2 separate regions of the Homo sapiens genome follow, and region 1 is linked to region 2. The links are contacts of gene promoters, found by promoter capture Hi-C in blood cells and fetal thymus (Javierre and others, 2016). All regions are on one chromosome and are shown on one strand. Each heading gives the region's core, a stretch centred on a gene start or on the middle of the fragment in contact. The rest is flanking DNA. Distances are from core to core; before and after follow the strand shown. Region 1 overlaps POLH (DNA polymerase eta). Region 2 holds the start of MRPL14 (mitochondrial ribosomal protein L14).

What was found. The method cuts DNA at HindIII sites, captures the fragments that hold promoters and counts their contacts. A CHiCAGO score of 5 or more calls a contact.
Region 1: a fragment that was not itself captured here is called in contact with the fragment with the promoter of MRPL14 in region 2 in 2 of 17 cell types (erythroblasts and M2 macrophages); the score reaches 5.4 in erythroblasts.

What each region holds. Positions count from the first base shown.
Region 1 is chr6:43,591,561-43,594,532 of GRCh38, forward strand. The region is part of intron 4 of POLH (DNA polymerase eta); the gene reads left to right. Among named protein-coding and RNA genes, the nearest start is that of POLH, 17 kb to the left of the region's middle. The HindIII fragment of the contact is 3,573 bases long and covers 1-2,972 here.
Region 2 is chr6:44,126,091-44,129,063 of GRCh38, forward strand. It overlaps MRPL14 (mitochondrial ribosomal protein L14), which reads right to left and starts at 1,362. Exons shown (of 3, transcript NM_032111.4): 1 at 1,254-1,362. It overlaps TMEM63B (transmembrane protein 63B), which reads left to right and starts at 1,464. Exons shown (of 24, transcript NM_018426.3): 1 at 1,464-1,588. RefSeq lists silencers at 1,095-1,154, 1,185-1,234, 1,255-1,654, 1,695-1,804, 1,985-2,144. The HindIII fragment of the contact is 11,989 bases long and covers 1-2,393 here.

The DNA of each region.
Region 1 (2,972 bases), core at 174-2,673, 530 kb before region 2:
CATCTGCCTTGGCCTCCCAAAGTGCTGGGATTACAGGCATGAGCCACCGCACCCAGCCTGATTTTTTTTTTTTTTTTAAATATTTGGAATTGGTTTTATAATGCCTTGAATTTGTGGCTCTTTAAAGTTTATTTGAGAATTACATACTCTTAAAAATTTGTTGAAAGCTATAGACCCTTGCTGGCCTCCGAAAAATTTGTATCTATACATAAGACAATTTTGCATGCAGTTTTCAGGAGATTCACAAACCCTCTGAAATCCACATACCTCAGAATTAGAACTAGTCTTACACATTATATTGGTTTTTGCTGCAGAGCATTGTTGAAGCATTCTATTATCTCTGGCTGAAGATGGTATATACCTTCCTTGGTAGTTGAATGTTAACTCAGATGGACGTGTTCCTCTTTCTTCTACACTTACTTTTCTTACCTATGTACATTTTTTTATTAAAAATGCCCATGTTTATAGAGAGGTCTATTTCTGTATGTCTTGTGTCTGTTGCATTAGTGTGTCCAACTTAAATATTAAGCTCCCAGATGCAGTGCCAGCATCTTATTATATGTAATGTTCAGAACAGTGCAATGTCTAGGAAATATTTCATATCATATTCCTGAATCTTTGATGTGTGCAACCACAAAAACCTGATAACAGAAATTAGCTGATCTAAGTGGATATAACCTTCCAGAAATCATTTTTCATGGATACAATATATTTCAAATCTAAGAAAAGAGGCGAGGTATTTGTAATACCTTGATACTGAGCTTTCCATCAACTTTTCCATCTTGCCTCCTATAAGAGCTAGCAATCATGCTCAGCCCTCCTGCATTTGCAGCTTTGTATCTTCTTTTTTTTTTTTTTTTTTGGAGAGGGAGTCTCTTTCTCGCTCTGTCGCCCAGGCTGGAGTGCAGTGGTGCAATCTCGGCTCACTGCAATCTCCACCTCCCGGGTTCACGCCATTCTCCTGCCTCAGCCTCCCGAGTAGCTGGGACTACTGTTGGCCGCCACCACGCCCGGCTAATTTTTTTGTATTTTTTTTAGTAGAGACGGGGTTTCACCGTGTTAGCCAGCATGGTCTCGATCTCCTGACCTCGTGATCTGCCCGCCTTGGTCTCCCAAAGTGCTGGGATTACAGGCGTCAGCCACTACGCCTGGCCTTGTATTTTCTAAAATAGTTATTTGTGTGTAAAGTTTAAGTAGTAAGATTTACTTAAAGTACTTCTCAGAAATTGTCAAGGTGAAACTTTCCCATCATTGCCATTTTGTAACTGGTTTGTTAGCTAAGGGCCTTTTCTTTTCCCTTTGTTTTTTCTTAATTCATTTCTTTATTATTTTAAAACACAGAGACATGGTCTCACTATGTTGCCCGGGCTGGTCTTGATGAGTTCCTGGCCTCAAGCAATTTTCCCACTTCAGCGTCCCAAAGTGCCAGGATTATAGGCGTGAGCCACTGCACCTGGCCTTACAAAACAGTTTTATAATGATTATTTTTGAGATGGGGTCTCACTGTGTTGCCCATGTTACCTGTGAACTCATGCTCAAGTGATCCTCCCACTTGAGGCTTCCAAGTAGCTGGAACTATCGGCATGTGCCACTGTGTCTGGCTTTATCTTATAATGATCATATAATTATTATTAAAGATTATAAAATTCAATGGAAAGATTATACTATCCTCATGTATCAAAAGACTAAATCTTACTAGTGCTCAATTCTCCCCAAATTGACGTATAGATTCATTGCAGTCCCTTCCAAAATCCCACAGAAATTGACAAACTGATTCTAAAATTTGTATGGAAATGCAAAGAATGTGGAGTAGCCAAACAACTTTGAAAAAGAACTAAGTTGGAAGACATACTACCTGATTTCAAGATTTAACTATAAATTTGTAACTAGGGAAGTTTGGTATTGGTGTGAGAAAATACGTAGATTAATGGTATAGAATAGAAAGTATACAAGTAGATCCCCACTTTTCAGGCTGGGGTGTGTGTGGTGGCAATTCATTTCCACAAAGGTGCCAAGATAATTCAACAAGAAAAACTCTTGGCTGGGCACAGTGGCTCACGCCTGTAATCCCAGCACTTTGAGAGGCCAGGGTGAGCGAATCATGACGTCATGAGATTGAGACCATCCTGGCCAACATGGTGAGACCCTGTCTCTACTAAAAATACAAAAATTAGCTGGGTGTGGTGGCGCATGCCTATAATCCTAGCTTTTCGGGAGGGTAAGGCAGGAGAATTACTTGAACCCAGGAGGCAGAGGTTGCAGTGAGCTGAGATTGCGCCACTGTACTCCAGCCTAGCAACAGAGTGAGACTCCGTCTCAAAAAAAAAAAAAAAAAAAAAGAAAGAAAGAAAAGTTTTTTCTCAGCTTTCATGGGCATTTAACACCAGAACTACCTGAAGTATTTCCTGTAGTCCATTTCATGGTATTGAAGAAAAACCAAAATTTTATAGATTTTTCTTATCAACTAGAGAAAAGGTAAAAAGCATTGTAGGGAAATAAGGGAATTCTGCTTATCTTCTGTGGTCCCGTTCAGTTAATACAGATAAAGGATTAAATTTAAAAATCTACATTGCCACAGGATTGCAACATTACCCAATCTGGGAAAGCAATGATGAAAAAAATCTAAAGCAGAGAAAATTTAGCTCTAACTGTTTAAAAAGGTCCAGAAAGTCATACAATTACAGTAAATTATTCATATTTTTGTTTCCCAAAGCTAATATATACTAGTATAAATTGTTTTAAATGATGGATGTTTTAATAGTATTTATTGTTCTTAATATGTGCAAGCCTTGGTATTTCAGGAAAACAGATAATTAAAAAAAAAGCAAAAAATGCGCAAGCCACTGTGCTGAGGAACTTTATTTTTAAAAACTACCTTTTGGCCGGGCACAGTGGCTCACGCCTGTAATCCCAGCACTTTGGGAGCCCTTGAGGTCAGGAGTTCAAGACCAGCCTGGCCAACATGGTGAAAC
Region 2 (2,973 bases), core at 112-2,611:
CATCCTCAGACAATTTTAAGTGACTGAAAACTCAGGCAAAGAAAGGCAAGAGGGCAAATAGAAGGGCACAGGAGACAACGCTTTTCAAATTTTTCTCACTGCGACCTACAGAAACACACTGTAGAACACCTCCTAGTACACTCACACGTGTGTGTACACCTGAAGTGTCAAGAAACAATACCCTAAGTGCAACACCCTCTGATATTTTCTATTTCAAGTGGCCGTGATCTACTAAACTGATTTCCAACTCACCAATAGGATTCAGTTTGAAAAACACTGCAATAAATCAAACCTTACAGTTGCATTCCACAAGCTACTAATGAACTCTTGAAAATCCAGCATACAGCAGAGACGCTGACCAACTACAAGATCCAAACCCCCCAGGTGGGCAGTGTCCTTCTGTTCAGCAGTGGCAGTTCCCCACCACCACCAGCCCTGAGAGTTAATTATCTCCCAAACTCCCAGAGTTTCCCAAGTAGCCTGAGGTGTCTGTCATATGCCCTTTTAACCTCTTTATAAATTCAGTCCCGTCCGTCTCTTACGGTGGCAAAGTTCATTTATCGTCGGCTGTGGAAAGCAATACTTCCTTTTTGTCCCCTCCAGGAACCAGAAATTAAATGACCAGGTTGGTGCCCGTTGTGCCTTTATGATCTATTTGTGTGGGTGATATATAGAAAGAGTCTCAGTCTCTCCCTTCATCTTTCCAGTCTTAATCACTGGTAGATGCAGTCTCTGGTGAAATAAGAAACCAGGGAACCCCCTGGCCTGGGGGAGGGCGCACTCATCAGCGTTGACAGAGTGAAAGCAAAAACTCAATCCTCACACCACAGAGGCGTCTGGCTAACTCATCTCCAGACCTAAGTTGGGAAAGGGGAGGGGAGCGCGGAAAGCGGAGAAGCCGGAGGAGACGCTCCGGAGTGACCAGCGACGGCTGAACGCAGCCCGCCCTCCCCAAGTCGACGCCGCAACCCGGGGAAAGCAGGTGAGCGCCGGCCACGGACTTGGGGGTCGCAGAAGCAGCCCACGGAGAGCGGAAGGGAGGAGGATCCGGGTAAGGGGCCTCCCCTCCCCGTCGGGACCCCCCTCCCCGTCGGGACCCCCCCCTCCCCGTCGGGACCCCTCCCACTGACGCTCTGCCTCCCACTCTGGCCTCTCCTCACTCACCCCGGGGAGTGGGCCTCCCCTACTGCAGAGAAAGGAAGAGGAGAAGGAGGGAATGAGGACTTAACGCCCACCCCTGCCCCCCACCATACCGCTCTCGCCGCCCGGGAAAATCCCGCCGCGGGCCCCACCAGCCAAGCGCCGCCTTCGCCCCACGCGGCCTCTTCCTAGCGCCTGCGCGCCAGGCCCAGCCCGGCGGACGCGATCTGAGAGTGCGCGCGCACCTTGCGTGCGCCGGCGTGCGGGGCGGGACCTGCGGGGCTCCGCCCCCTCCCCCTCCCTCCCCCCGCTCCCCCTCCCCCATACACTGCCGCGGCCGCCGCAGGAGCCCGGAGCTCGAGCCGCCCAGCGACTCCCCCTCCCCCTCCCCCAGCCCCGCCCCGCCCCAACCCGGGGCTCCGAGCCGGAGCCGAGTCTGCGCCTGGGGGTGAGTACGCGACCCCTACCCAGCCCTCGCTCTTTTCTTCGAAGATCCCACCACCACCCAAAGAAAAAACCTGGACTCAGCTGCGCGTCCCCTCCCTTCAACCTCCTGCGGGACCCAGAGGTGCCCGGGCCCGCGGGACCCAGGGGTGGCGCGCGCTGCCCCCAACCCCGCACCATCCCGAGCCAAATGTGAGTCCTCCAACCCCTGCCGGAGGTCCAGATACGCGCCGCCGGCTCTCCCCAGCCCCGGGGAGATCCCAAAGGGTGGGACCCCCGCCCCCGGCCCCCGAGTGCCACTCTTCTCCCACCTGCCCGGTGCAGGTGCGCGTCCCCTGCGCGACCCTCGGGGGTGCCAGCTGCGCCCCGCCTGTCCGCCGCCGTTTGGGGAACTAGCCGCCCCCGCCCCCGAGTTTTGGACCCCGGGGTCGCCAAGTCCGATGCCTTCTGTGCCTTTTATTTTTTCTGCTGCTCCCGGGGGCGAGTACACCCGAAGCCGGTCCGGGGTAAGGGCTCGGGCTCGGGCAAGGGCAGGGTTCGCAGGTGCTGGCACGAGGCCGGCCGCTGCCCCCGGCTCTGGGGACTGACTGGTCGGCGGGCTGGAGAGGCGGCCGGCCCCGGGAGCGTGTCCTCTCCTTGCGCCCCACACAGTGCAGTTCATTCATGAGCCGCCCGGGCCTGCGTTGGAGGGTGCGGTGGGGAAAAGATTCAGACGCGAAACCGAGAGTGGGGCAAAGGCCCTGTTGTGGGGAGGGGGCGCCGCTTTGTCCCTCCTGGCTGTCTTGACCGCCTAAGGCGGACAGTCCCAAAGCTTGGCACCTTGTTCCCCAGAAAAGGAAAGGACGCTTGGGAAGTGGGGAGGAGAGGTCAGAGGGGCTGGCTGCCCTTGGGGCGCTGTGCTGCCCCCTGCCTGGGTCCCCTGGGCAGAGGTCTGGCCGCTCGGGGCAAGCCTGAGCACTCCACCGCCCTGGGGGGCTGGGGCTTGCCTACCCATTACCAGTCTGCAGCAGCCGGGGAGCAATGAGGCTGTGCCCAACACCTGCTGAAGAGGGGCCCATCCTGCCTCCCAGGCCAGGGTGAGGTGGGGAGTGGGAGTGTCAGCCAGGCTTCAAGTGGGGGTGTGCTGGCAGCGTGATTGTCCTCCAGGGCACCAGAGGGTCCAGGCCTTGGCATGCCCCAGGTGGCACATGCTGGGGCCTGCTGTTGGCTCACTCAGTGCAGTCTTGGCCTGTGGGTGGATGGGGACATGGCAAGGCAGAAGGCAGGCAGTGGGTAACTAAGAACCCCCTTGGACATCATTCAAGTTCTCTCCAAGTATAGCAGAGTCTTAGAGACCTGCGTTCAAATTCTAGCTCTACTATTCTTCAGCTGTGTGACCTTGACAAGTTA